Regions from separate parts of the Homo sapiens genome. Here regions 1, 2, 3 and 5 are each linked to region 4. The links are contacts of gene promoters, found by promoter capture Hi-C in blood cells and fetal thymus (Javierre and others, 2016). All regions are on one chromosome and are shown on one strand. Each heading gives the region's core, a stretch centred on a gene start or on the middle of the fragment in contact. The rest is flanking DNA. Distances are from core to core; before and after follow the strand shown.

The links. The method cuts DNA at HindIII sites, captures the fragments that hold promoters and counts their contacts. A CHiCAGO score of 5 or more calls a contact.
Region 1: a fragment that was not itself captured here is called in contact with the fragment with the promoter of MSC in region 4 in 1 of 17 cell types (M0 macrophages); the score reaches 5.7 in M0 macrophages.
Region 2: a contact is called between the fragment with the promoter of NCOA2 here and the fragment with the promoter of MSC in region 4, in 2 of 17 cell types (M0 macrophages and M2 macrophages). The highest score is 9.0, in M0 macrophages.
Region 3: a contact is called between a fragment that was not itself captured here and the fragment with the promoter of MSC in region 4, in 1 of 17 cell types (M2 macrophages). The highest score is 7.2, in M2 macrophages.
Region 5: a fragment that was not itself captured here is called in contact with the fragment with the promoter of MSC in region 4 in 1 of 17 cell types (endothelial precursors); the score reaches 5.2 in endothelial precursors.

The regions. Positions count from the first base shown.
Region 1 is chr8:70,662,965-70,665,664 of GRCh38, reverse strand. All of the region lies in intron 1 of LACTB2 (lactamase beta 2), which reads left to right. It overlaps LACTB2-AS1 (LACTB2 antisense RNA 1), which reads right to left. Exons shown (of 4, transcript NR_038881.1): 4 at 2,386-2,700. Among named protein-coding and RNA genes, the nearest start is that of LACTB2, 4.9 kb to the left of the region's middle. The HindIII fragment of the contact is 777 bases long and covers 987-1,763 here.
Region 2 is chr8:70,402,374-70,405,073 of GRCh38, reverse strand. NCOA2 (nuclear receptor coactivator 2) reads left to right here and starts at 1,266. Exons shown (of 23, transcript NM_006540.4): 1 at 1,266-1,374. RefSeq lists silencers at 490-649, 1,340-1,649, 1,690-1,979, 2,010-2,669 and an enhancer at 750-869. The HindIII fragment of the contact is 4,231 bases long and covers 1-2,700 here.
Region 3 is chr8:70,610,434-70,613,133 of GRCh38, reverse strand. The region is part of intron 1 of LACTB2-AS1 (LACTB2 antisense RNA 1); the gene reads right to left. Among named protein-coding and RNA genes, the nearest start is that of LACTB2-AS1, 3.2 kb to the right of the region's middle. The HindIII fragment of the contact is 2,495 bases long and covers 125-2,619 here.
Region 4 is chr8:71,843,003-71,845,702 of GRCh38, reverse strand. It overlaps MSC (musculin), which reads left to right and starts at 1,291. Exons shown (of 2, transcript NM_005098.4): 1 at 1,291-2,058. The coding sequence starts at 1,525. It overlaps MSC-AS1 (MSC antisense RNA 1), which reads right to left and starts at 2,580. Exons shown (of 5, transcript NR_033652.1): 1 at 1,999-2,580; 2 at 1,281-1,474. RefSeq lists a silencer at 1,673-1,942. The HindIII fragment of the contact is 4,753 bases long and covers 427-2,700 here.
Region 5 is chr8:70,743,411-70,746,110 of GRCh38, reverse strand. It overlaps a transcript of XKR9 not described here. Among named protein-coding and RNA genes, the nearest start is that of XKR9, 75 kb to the right of the region's middle. The HindIII fragment of the contact is 849 bases long and covers 905-1,753 here.

The DNA.
Region 1 (2,700 bases), core at 126-2,625, 1.2 Mb after region 4:
TAGTACCTACCTCATTGGATTTTATAAGGGCTCAGTGAAATTTAAGTGAAAAAACGTATATGAAAAGCACTTAACAAGTTCTAGCACGTGGAAAACATACCATGTTAGCCATTATGTTTATCACTTCTGCTTTCCTCATAACATCTAGATAACACTGTGCTCATAGTAGGTGTTCAGAAAATATCTAATGATTTTATAAGAGTGACAGCAAATAGAGACCAGTTAATAGCTATCTTAATATTGACATGAAATACCTATAACAAGGAATTTGATTCTACTAATTTTCCATCAATTAAAAATTTTTTTCTCCATTCATGTAGCAAACAGTTATTGTGTGCCTACTATGTGCCAGGCACTTTGCTCTAGTGAATAAATCGTTCATAGACCTATACAGATTCATCCATACTCTTCCCTTGAGCCCTTCATTAGCATAATTTGCATTTGCAAAATGACCTCCTGAGATAGGGATATTATTATCTGTGGCCAAGAAGAACAAAGTCAACTAGCCCATGTAGAGATGATACTATCCAATCATCTATTATAACTATTTACAGACATCACTGATAGAGTAACTGTTTGCTAAGGGAGAAACTGATAACATTTTTTTCAATTTCAAAACTGATAACAGTTTTTTCAAATGTATAGCTGAAGTTTTATTTTTGCCACATAATGATTCTAAGCACTTAACCTAAGCAATCCCCTTCTGCTAGAGAGGCAGTGTTTTGAATGGAGAAGTCACTGGACCTTGTATCTGAACATCTAGTGCTTCCTAGCACTGCCTCTTGCTGGTTATATGACCTGGAGCAAATCACTTAGCCTTTCTGAAGATAAGTTTTCTATAAAATAAATAATTAATAAAGTAATAATACCTCCCTAGAGTTGATATGAGGATCAAAAGAAATAGTAAATATGAAAGCCCCAAATGGTTTAAATTGCTATGTCAATGTCATATGTTATCAGTGTGACTTTTTTTTTCCCTCAAAGCTTGGTGCAAACTCATGTTTTAGGTTTTATAGTATCTAGACACCCCTCCTTTGTTCTGAATAGATTGTATTAATTCCAGAACTTTTTTCTGTTTTCTTTCTTTTGAGAGCCCTTCTTTTATCAATTCCAATTTTGTTAAACCAAGACAGGACCATTAAGAGACCTAAAACTGGAGCCCCAGAAACATGTTCTCCACTACCACAGTCGTATGGTCACTCACACTTTCACCTGCAAACAACCAGCACAGGCATTCTAAAAGATCTGTTTTCTTTGCTACTAGATTTTATCAAATTCATGTATCAACCCTGTTAATTTTGTCATGACTTTTGATCAGTGTGATGTGATCTGGTCATTAAATTACAGAAATTTATATTCATTTTTAGATTAGGAGATATTTCAAAACAGAGTTTCTTGGGAGGACGGGAAGGCAAGGATTAAGAAATAATTTTAAAAGTGGTGGGGCCTTGATGGATTGAAAAAATTTGAGCCTTACCTGAAGCATGGAAGTATTCTTTTTGTGAGGACCAGAAGACCCACAAAAATAGTCCCAGTGACTCTACGTTAGGGGCAGTGAGAATTTGTGGTAAATAACTGCAAATGCATGGAGGCAGCCAAAATCTAGGATGGGTGGGCTAGAGAGTATTATTGGAGGTATCATAGTATTATAGTCTTGTGTATTTTAATTTAGCATAACTAAATATGCACAATGCTAAGTGCAGTACAATGTATTATGGATATAGAAATAAATCCATAAATTCCTTGAACCAAACAGACAAGCTTTCTGCCCTGAAGGGACTCAAATTTGTACGGTGGTGTTGGTTGTGGAAATAGGCAATAAAAAAATAAATATGTAAATACATAATATATTACATGGTAATAATTGCTATGGAAAAAAAGCAAGATAAGATGGCTAGGAATAGCATCAGAACTCACTCTGACCCGAGTCAAACTCATCTCAAATTTGCTCCCTCCAGGGTTTACCTTCTTGATTAATGGCACACCAATCCTCCCACCTAGAAACCTCAGAGTCGCCAACTGTTTCCCTCCTTCCACATCTCGTTGTTTAACAAATATCCTGGTGGTTGGTTGATTGTACCTTCTAAATGTTCTTAAAGCCATCTCTTCCTTACATTTCCACTACCAACAGAACCCTATAATAAATGCCCTCTTGGTCCAGTGTAACCATCTGGTCTCCTGTCTCCGGATAGGACAGTTCAACACTGTGTTTCTGAAGGACATCTACTGTGCTACAGAACATAGGGTGCAGATAGAAGCCAATGGGCTATGAGGCCATTACCCTCCTCCCTTATGAGAGGCCAGTTTGTTTTTGTTGGCTCTGGGTCTCAGGGAGTAGGGTTAGGGAAACAAACCAATAAAAAATAACCATCCAGTTACTCACTGTTTAATTTTAATGCTTTGCAAAATGCTTTCTATGGTATGTTACTTTTATTGTTTATTTCCAGTCATATGCAGTTCCCCTTCTCACCAACAGTTGAATGTAAGCAGGGTTGTTGTGTCCTGCTTACTGCAAGAAACAAATTTGTAGCACATATTAGGTAATCCATAAACAGTTATTGATCAATTAATGAATAACTCAGACTTTTCATCAAGGCTAATCTGTCAGCCAGCCTGAATTATTGAGGTGTTACTGTGAAACAGTATGAGTGAAGAAGTTTGTGAATTGGATCTTGAGCTGGGCATGGTGGCTCAACGCCT
Region 2 (2,700 bases), core at 17-2,516, 1.4 Mb after region 4:
GCAATGACTTCGGAAGGTTTGAGGATTAAGGCCTATAGCATATATACATCACCTAGCACAGTCAGATTCACAGTAAGTGTTCAATAAACACTCTTATTGTCTACCGCAAGTGACCTTTCTCATTATAAGATTAAAATCAGGGAATATGTTCCTCTCATAGTTTGATAACTGCCATTAAACAAAAGTTTTTTTTTTCAACTAATTACCGTATAAGTTGGAAAAAAAACTTGCTTTTCCAAAGCGTAAAACAGATTGGTCTAAGTAACACTTAAATGGGGGTTCTCGCATTTTCAGTGCCAATCTCCTACGTCCCCTCAGTACTTTGTTCACGGATGTCTAGAGAATGGACTTTCCAATACAAACTTATGATTTCATGATGTGCCGAAAATTCTCAACCAGGTTAAGTTTCACACTCTGTGTGCAGCATTTGCTTTATCCCGCAATTGCCGGGTGGTGCCCCTTCCAGCTCCCACAGTCGCGCCTCTCCATCCCCTCTGGAGCTAGGACTGCAATGGGAGAAGCCTCTCCCTGTTGGAGCCGTAGGGGACTTGACGGATGCGGGGCGCCTCCGGGGAGCAGCGGCAGGACCGGGAGTTGGGTAGGGTGAGGTGCGCCCGAGGGGGTGCAGGGTGCTGGCCGAAGGGTCCGGCCGGACGGGCGCGAGGGTCCTCTGCTGGCGACCCTGGAACTCGGCTCTCCCCGATCTTCGTCCTGGGGCACCGTCCCTGCCGTCTGCAGCCCCCAGGCCCCACTGCCTCTAACTCAGCGGCCCAGGCCCGTCCCAGTCGCTAGTTTTCTTTTTGGCATTGCCCTTTGCCCTCCCATGCAGTCCTCTGTTGACTCTCTCTTCAGTTCCAGTCACCTCTAGGTCACCCTCCCTCTACCACAGTCACCCATTTTGTCCCCTGTCCCCTTACTCTTCTTCACCTCTCCCCGGGCCGCCTTCTCAGAGGACTCTGCCGACGGAGATGCTGCGGACCCCGCGGCCAGGGGCTGCTCCCCGGACAACCCTGCGTCCACCTTTGCCCCTTCCTCGGGGGCGCGAGAGGCAAGTTTCCGCCCCGTCCTTTTCCCGGTGACAGGACTTGGCGGCGGCCACTGCCGGGGAGGCAGAGGGAGGGACGGCCTGGCTCCCGAGCCCCCTCCCCTGCTCGCGAGCTCGCGCTGTCTGTCTCTCCGCAAGTGCGGAGACGCGGAGGAGGAGGAGGAGGAGGAGGAGGAGGAGGGAGTTGGGGGAGGATCTCCATTGAAATAAACAACCAGGCAGCAGTTATTAACACGGGAACATGGCGGCCGCAGCCTCGGCTACAGCTTCGGCGGCGAAGGTCAGCGCCGACGGCAGCCGGCACCTGACGGCGTGACCGACCCGAGCCGGTAACCGCGCCTTCCCCCGGGGCCGCGAGGGCGGGCGGGGGGCGGGCGGCAGGCGGGGGGCGCCGCGTCCCCACCCCCGGCCGCGACTGCCCTTCCTGCGCCGAGCTCCGACAGAGCCGTGCGCCTCCGAGAGGCTGTTTTTGTGTGCGGGGACCGCCGCCGGAGTGCGCGGAAAACGGGAGTTGCATCCCGGAGGCGCAGCGACGCTGGGGAGTTGGGGCTTGGGGGTGGGGAGGGCGGGAAGCGACGGGGAGACGCGGAGTCCCCGGGAGAGAAAGGAGGCGCTCCAGCGCCTTGCGAGAGCTCAGGAGACGAGTCCCGGAGCGCGAGGCGGGCGGAGGCTGCAGCCCGCGGCGCGGGCGAGAGGTGAGCGCCGAGGCGCGGCCGGGGGTGCGGGCGCGGCCCCCGCCCCGAGGAGCGAGTGCCCATTGCCCAGCCCGGTGCGGGGTCGGCGGAGACCGAGGCTCTAACCCCTCGGGGGCAGCGCGGCAGAGCCGAGAAGGTGAATCCTGGGAAGGTGCATTCTTTAATGGAAGCGCGGAGCGGCTGCAGCGGAGAGTGGGAGCCGGGCGAGGGGAGGCAGGACTCGGGAAGTGCTGGGGGTGTGTGAAGGTGAAGCGGGGTGTCGGGGCGGCCGGCGAGCTGCAGCGCGGGGCGGGGAAGGGGAGCCGCGGCCCGGCGGGTGGCCCGGGCCCGTGTCAGCCCCGGGGGTGGGGGGCGAGGGGCGCCGAGCACCGCGGGCGGACGGGAAGGAGCTGCGGCGGGCGGGGCGGGCGGCGCGCTGGGGCCGAGCAGGCCGGGCCGTGGTGGGGGCGGGGAGCCGGGGGCCGGGCCCCGGCGGCGCCGAGCCGGGCTCGCCCCTGACTGAACTTTCTGGGTGCGGGCGTGTATGCAGGAGGCGCGCTGGGGCCGGGGCCGGGGGCGGGAGGCGGACCGGGAGGTTCCGGGTTGGCTCGCCAGCGCCCCCTTTTCTCGCCCCCTTCTCTCCGCCCCTGAAGGGACAGGCCCTCGGGGCCCCAGGCGGGAAGCGGGAGGGGCCCTGTGGCCGCCTCGCGACGGTCACGCCCCGGGCACGGGGACCCGGCCCTCTCGGGCCCCTGGGGGGTGCTGGGGGAGGGGGCCGGGGTCGTCGCTGCCGGCTGCGCTCCCCGCCTCCTCCCCTCGGGGGAGTCCCAGAGGCGCCTCTTCCGAGACCGGGGGTGGGTCGGTCCCTGGTTAGATGGCCCCTCCCTCTTCCCCTCCCTCTAGTGGTTTCCGGGGCCTGCGGGACCGAGGGGCGGGAATCGGGGACTGGAGCCCCCTTCCGCTGGCCCGGAGCTGGACTGG
Region 3 (2,700 bases), core at 123-2,622, 1.2 Mb after region 4:
TGCTGGAGCTCTACACACAAGGCTGGCCAAAACTTTCTCAGCTGCACCTCAGTCTGAGGCTCTTCCTGCCTGATCCTTCTTCCTTCCTTTCACAGGGATCAGATCTACATTACAGCCTGAAGCTTTTCCCTGTTAACTCCCCTCCCCTTTAATTTTCACAAATGTTATTGCCAATAAGTCTCTTATGCTTCTAACTCCTTCTTGGCATCTATTTCCTGGACAACCCAAACTAACATAACCACACAACCTCCATCTTACCAAACCCAGTGGTCACTAGGCGCAATGGCTCACACCTGTAATCCCAGCACTTTGGGAGCCTAAGGCGAGTGGATCACAAGGTCAGGAGTTCGAGACCAGCCTGACCAACATGGTGAAACCCCATCTCTACTAAAATACAAAAATTAGCCAGGCCTGGTGGCACGTGCCTGTAATCCCAGCTACTCAGGAGGTTGAGGCAGGAGAATCACTTGAACCTGGGAGGCAGAGGTTGCAGTGAGCTGAGATCGTGCCACTGCACTCCAGCCTGGGCAACAGAGCGAGATTCCATCTCAAAAACAAACAAACAAACAACAACAACAAAAACCCAATGGTCATCTCAAGTCCTATGGCTGGCCAGAGTATGATATGTTTAAGCAGCTGAAAGAAGACCAATGTGGTCTTCTCACAAAGGAGTGAAAAATCACCAGATTCTAAGGTTTGAAAGGACCAATTTCAGTTTAAAAACTGACATTAGTAGAGCAATTCATTTCCAAATGACCTAGAACACTTCTACTGCACCTTGCACTGTCTCTTTGTAAATATCCATCACATTGGTCATTGTTTACTGTCTGTCTTCTATTCCAGGTATGCGTTTCAAGAACAAAGACTAAATCTGTCTTGTTAATAATTATATCCTACAACTCAGGACTTGCTTGGTGCATTGCAAGTCTTCTTTAAATATATTTAAAATGAGTAACTTTGTAGAGCCATATATCATTTTTATGTTTGTTTCTTGGTTAAACTATCTTAAGGTTTTATTCTCATTTATGTGAGGTATTTTTTCTTTTCATTCCCTCAATAAATAATGACCACTAAATATTTGACAGTATAGCACCAGGTAGTAGGAGCTGGAAAAATGAAACAACTCCCAGTTCCTGAGGAGTACCAGTCTAGTGGGAAGACAGACTTGCAAACAATAGAAGATAGTATGATTATTGCTAAAATGAAATTATGTACAAAATACAAGTGAGTCCTCATAGACCCAAGTGTAAGAGCTAAAACCATAAAACTCTTAGAAGAAAACACAGGAGTAAATCTTTGGAATCTTGGGTTAGGCACTGATTTCTTATATAGGACAACAATAGCAAGTGATTAAAGAGAAAACAGGTAAGTTGGACTTTGCTGAATTAAAAACTTTTGTGCTTCAAAGAAAACCATCAAGAAAGTAAAAAGACAGACTGAAAGAAAATATTTTCAAATCATATATCTGCTAAGATCTAGAATCTATCTTTTATTTTTTAAAATAAATTACAGAACAACATGGACATATAGAATAGATATTTTTAAACCCTTACAACTCAATAAACTTTAAAAAATTAATCCAACTTAGAAATGATAAAGGATTTGAATAGACATTTCTACAAAAAAAGATATACAGATGGCTTCTGAGCACCTGATAAGGCTAGTAGTCAATATCATTAGTGCTCAGGGAAATGCAAAGCAAAATCACAATGAGATATTACTTCACACCCACTAGGACAGATAAGATTAAAAGACAGAAAATAAAAGTATTGGCAAGGATGGGAAGAAATTGGAACCTCTACACATTGCTAATAGGATGGGAAATAGTGCATTCACTTTGGAAATTAGTGTGAGAGTTCCTCAAAACGTCAAACATAAAGTTGCCTTATGATCAGCAATTCCACTGCTAGGTATATACCCAAAGGAATTGAGTTCAAACAAAAACTTGTACACAAATGTTCATCAACTGATGAATAAGATGTGCTATAGCCATACAATGGAATATTATTTGGCCATAAAAAGGAGTGAAGTACTGATACATGTTACAACATCGATGAACCTTGGAAACATTATCTTCAGTGAAAGAAGTCAGTCACAAAAGATCATGATTCTATTTACATGTAATGTCCAAGCTGGCCATGGTGGTTCACACCTGTAATCCCAGCACTTTGGGAGGTGGGAGAATTTCTTGAGGCCAGGAGTCCAAGGTTGCAGTGAGCTATGATCATGCCACTGTACACCAGCCTAGGCAACAGAGCAAGACCCCATCTCAAAAAAAGAAAGAAAAGAAACAAAGAAAGAACAAAAAGAAATGTCCACAATAAGCAAATATAGAGAGGTAGAAAATAGGTCAGTTGTTGCCAAGGGCTGCCAAGACTATGAGGGGAAATGGAGAGTTACTGGTAATGTGTATAAGGTTTCTTTTAGAGATTACAAGAATGTTCTAAAGTTATATTATGGTGATTGTTGCACAACTTTGCAAACATACTAAAAACCACAGAATTGAATATCTCAAATAGCTGAACTATATGACATAAATTATACTGCAATAAAACTATTTCAAAAATGCAATTGAATCATAAAAGATAAATTGCTTAGGTCACAGAATTCAGTGAAGCTTTCGAAGAGGTCATGTGTAAATGAGACATGAAGGAACAGCAGGAGCCTGCTGTGTCTATGAAAGGACAGGAGAAAACATTC
Region 4 (2,700 bases), core at 42-2,541:
AAGCCTGTGTGACGACTCAGTTTCATCATTGTAAAATGGGGTAACCATATGCCAAACTCATACGGGTTTTATTACTCAGTGAGCTGCTCACAAGCCGCGAGTACAGTGACGGGCACACAGCGGGCACTCAGTCTCTGACCACTGGGGCCCGTATCCACAGACGTACTTATCCCCTGACCAGGAACTGCGATGACCTTCGAGTTAGGAAATAATGAGACTGCAAAATTGTTGTGTTTTCTTGTGTGGAAGAGCAGGATGTTTTAGTCTTGTTTGGAATGGAACATGATCATTCAGGGTGCTCCTTTGTCGTTTTTACTTTGAATGGACGATTGTGCTAACTTAGCATTCTGCTTCCAGGAGCTCGCTCTTCAATACACAATCTATTAAATACAATAGCAAGGATTCCCTACATTATAATGCAAAGCTTTAGGGCCGGATCCTCCAACACACGCATTGTGGTATTAAAACAAAATCACATCACGCATGGAACTCTCAAGATAGTGGAAAATACCAGCTACAACATCCAGTGATGTGTGACCCGGAGGCACGGAGCTGACTAGAATACCGACGGGCCAGAATTTCAAAACGCGGATTTTGAATCTTTTTTTCTACTTAGCCTAATAAGTTTGGGTCTTTTACTTAACGTCTATCTAGGCGGCTCAGCTTCAAGTTCTGCAAATTGGAGATAATATCATTAAGTTACAGATGTTATTTGAAAAGGCAACGAACCATTGTAACCATTTTTGTAAACCATGAAGGTATATTATAAGAAAAGGAGGAGGAAAATGAGAGGTAACTTGTGCATTGTTGGATGTTGTTTGCCTGTTCTGCTTTTTCTCTTGTCCAGCAAGGCTTGGGTAGACAATCATACATCATGAATGGTTAACTTGAAAACTGAGTTCTACTGGAAAGACTGGCAGGCAAGCAGAGGTCGGAATCCCGTCGTTTCTAAGTGTCTGGTAATCTTTGCCACTGCTAAGATTACCTGGGGGTAGAAGCACCGTCGGTAGGAACAAGATGTGCCCCTTCACTCCCCGAAAGCTCACTTATCCTGCGCAGACATGTTGAAGGGCCGTCGGGCTTCAGAGCCCAAATCTCGGCTCTGCAGAGACGTCCCCTTCCCCCGCCTCCACCAACCGCTCTTCGGCATGCAGAAAAGCGGTCCCCACCCCTTCCACGCCCCTGCCCCACCTCTTGGCCCCCTTTACAACCCCCTCTTCTTTGCCCGGGGTGGTTTGTTCCAAGGAGTACAGATAGCCTTTTCAAAAGGCGCAGCTTACCGCGGTGCGCGCGGATTCTGGACTTGGGCGCCAACTCGTAGTCCACGCTCCCCGGGGTCAGCAGAGGGGCGCTCACGCTCTCGCCACCCACCTCGCTTTCTCACCCCGCGCTTCCCGGCCTGGGTTTTTAGTCTTCCTTGGAGCGCTCTCTGGCCTCCGCCTCCGCCAGGGAGCGGAAGGCGGAGACAGCGAGACTGGCCAGGGGGGAGGAAAGAGGACGCGTGTGGGCAAGGGGGACAACGGGATGTCCACGGGCTCGGTGAGTGATCCGGAGGAGATGGAGCTTCGGGGGCTGCAGCGGGAGTACCCGGTCCCCGCCTCCAAGAGGCCGCCCCTCCGCGGCGTAGAGCGCAGCTACGCCTCGCCCAGTGACAACTCGTCGGCAGAGGAGGAGGACCCCGACGGCGAGGAGGAGCGCTGCGCTCTGGGCACAGCCGGCAGCGCGGAAGGCTGCAAGAGGAAGCGGCCCCGTGTGGCTGGGGGCGGCGGCGCAGGTGGTAGCGCGGGCGGTGGTGGCAAGAAGCCCCTCCCGGCCAAGGGCTCAGCCGCAGAGTGCAAGCAGTCGCAGCGGAACGCGGCCAACGCCCGTGAGCGTGCCCGGATGCGCGTGCTGAGCAAAGCCTTCTCCAGGCTCAAGACCAGCCTGCCCTGGGTGCCCCCCGACACTAAGCTCTCCAAGCTGGACACGCTCCGGCTGGCTTCCAGTTACATCGCTCACCTGCGGCAGCTGTTGCAGGAGGACCGCTATGAGAACGGCTACGTGCACCCAGTGAACCTGGTAGGGGCGCGGCGCGCAAGGATTCGGGAGAGCAGCCAGGAGATACCCAGGGCGCTCCTGGGCGCCGGGCAGGGTCAGCCCGTTGGGAAGAATTCGAAAGGGGTGGAGGTTCTGGGACTGGGAACGAGAAGGCCAGTTTAGTTTCTCCCAAATCAAGGGAGTGGCCAGCCATTTCCCTGAAGAAGAATCAACCCTCCGTGTCTGTTTGCATCGTTCTGAACATTGTACCCCAGTGACAGCCATTGACTAATATCCTACTTCCAGGGTAAATCTTGGTTCCATCTCCATCTGCCACCAGGTTGCAGACTGACGGCAAATCTCCCTTGCCCAACTTAATCCAGCTGAGTCGGGCAGGTTTGAATCGGCAAGCCCTTTCTTAAAGGAGGGAAGGCCGAGCTCTATAAAAGAGCATTTGCATTTTTAGAAAAATTGCTTGTGGAAGATAGTAACGTTTCCCCAGATGGGATTTATCTGGAAAGTCCCTCTCTGATCTGCCAGCTCTCCCGGCTTGGGAAAAATCCTGTCCAAGCCCAGTTCCTACTTGGAGCTTGGAGTGGATGACTGTGTGTGTGTGTGTGTGTGTGTGTGTGTGTGCGTGTGTGTGTGTGTGTGTTGGGGAAGGGAACTAAACGACAGAACCTC
Region 5 (2,700 bases), core at 80-2,579, 1.1 Mb after region 4:
CACAAAATAAAAGGCACAAATCTTAAAATGAAGGATACCATTTAACTACATAATCATCTCTGTAACAAACTAGATCTAATATCAAAATATAGCCTCTTTGGGAAACGACAAATGGTTCATGTTAACCCCAAAGACATGTATATGTGCAAATGCTCAGCTAGAAAAGTCCAACTTTGAATTTATTGTAATCATTAAGTGGGGCATCAGCCAGAGTTAGAGATGCATTATATATCTCTGACCCCCACAATCACAAGGACAAGATTTACAATTGGAAATGAGCATCAAGATATTGTGCAAGAAATTAATGTTTGGCTTTGGTGTTCTCCTGGCTTGTAGCAATACATAGTTGATCCCATAAACCAGGGAACAAATTAGGCAGCACGTCCAATTTCTCTGTGGTTCCATTGCCCTCTAGTGGCTGTTTTGAAACTAATTATTAACTGATAGCCTTCAAAAGTCAACGGGGATTCTCAAAGAAGGGAGGGGAGAACAGCAGCATCAGCAACATCCGGGAACTTTTTTAAACACGCAAATTTCAAGCCCTACCTAATGCCTACTAAAAAGAAACTCAGGATAGGGGCCAGCAATGTGTTTCAATAAGCACTCCAGGAGATTCTGATGCACACTAAAGGTTGAGAACCACTAGTCTATGAGGAGAGTATTCATATTTGAAGATGTGAATGTATATAGGTGCATATGAGTGTTCTTTTATGAAAGTATTGCTCATAATTATTTTTCTTTTTTAAATTTCAAAAGGCCTTTTATATACACATAATAATCTAGAAAAAGCCCAAAATTTAGTTGCGGAAATTTAAAAGTCTTATAAAGCCATGACTGAACCATATAGAACATGAGGATAAAATTAATTAAGTTCATTCTATATTAAAAGTTCATTTTAAAAGCTTACTATTTAGCCAAAACATCTGACCAGGATCTTCCCATTTATTTCTTGGCTATAAAACCAATAAGAAAATGTTTGTTGGATGGAATGAATACTTAATCTATGTTTGTGTGGGACACTTAGCATTCAAGCTCCTTAGTAGATGTATAATATATTATTTCCTACCCTTTTTCCCATTACATATATTGTTAATTGGATTATTCAAGCTAACAGTGACACAAGTCCAGCTCTACCTTGAGCTAAAGCTGAAAAACATTTAGGCTAGACTTTTTAAAAAACTATATCATAGGCAAATAAATCATTCAGGCTGGCATGGTAACTCATGCCTGTAATCCCAGCACTTTGGGAGGCCGAGGCAGGTAGATCACTTGAGGCCAAGAGTTTAAGACCAGCCTGGCCAACATGGCAAAACCCAATCTCTACCAAAAATACAAAAATTAGCCAGGCGTGGTGGTGCACACCTGTAGTCCCAGCTACCTGAGTGGCTGAGGCACAAGAATCACGCGAACCCAGGAGGTGGAGGTTGTGGTGAGCCACGATCGCACCACTGCACTCCAGCCTGGGTGACAGAGCAAGACTCTATCACAAAAATAATAATTTTTAAATAATGCATAACTTAGCATAGCTGTAGGTAACCTATTCATCAGATAAAGATAGCATGGTTTCACAAAAAATGAACTGGATTTGAGGTGAAAAAGCCTGAGATTGGATCTGTGTGGACTTTGGCAAATTACTTAAACTCTATGAGCCTTGGTTCTCCCAGTTAAAGGGTAGTGATGATAATAATATCTATATTGCAGTTTTTATCAGGGTCATAAGTAGGGATGAGAGAGAACTAAATGTTAAAAAGCTTTACACATCTTGTCTAAGTAAATATTACAGAAAGATTTTTTTTTTTTGAGGCGAAGTCTCGCTCTGTCACCCAGGCTGCAGTGCAATGGCATGATCTCGGCTCACTGCAGCTTCTGCCTCCCCAGTTCGAGTGATTCTCCTTCCTCAGCCTCCCAAGTAGCTGGGATTAGAGGCGCCTGCTACCACACCTAGCTAATTTTTGTATTTTTAGTAGAGATGGGGTTTCATCATGTTGACCAGAGTGGTCTTGAACTCCTGACGTCAGGTAATGCACCCGCCTCAGCCTCCCAAAGTGCTGGCAGAAAGACTGGCAAACATTACAGAAAGATTACTGAAAATGTTATAGATTAATAAGAAGGTGGGTATATCTCTTACTGCACAAATCGTCTCACAAATAACCACTATGAACTCTGGACAAAACACTGGTAATTACCTCAAAGCACTTCACAGCAAAAAAAAGCAAGCAGACACTGGAGAGAGGTCGACATCTGGAAGAAGGAATGGCACTGAGTGAGAGCAGACCCCACTCAGCATACCAACTACACAAAATCCAAATTTAAAAACCTACAGTTTTAGTGGTTTTAAGGCCCAGAGAACAGAGTATGTGGTGATCACAACTGCTGAAAAATGAGGTGGAAAATCTAGGAGAAAAATAGAACCAACAGAAAGGAAGTCTCACTTCATATATTAATTCTGCCCAATTTTAGGCTGACCGTGAACTATGCATATAAGGGGAAGACTCGATGCAGCTCACTGAAGGTTAAATAAAGATTGTTTAGAGTTCAGAGTTTAAAGTTCAAGTTACTGCCTGCTGAAAAGAAAAAAAAATGTTTCTCTGAAGAACAAAAATAATCAAGAGGATCTAAAATGTATCATTCATACCATCCAGGAAACAATTCAAAATTAGTAGCCATATGAGCAAACGTGAAAATGTAACCCATACTCAA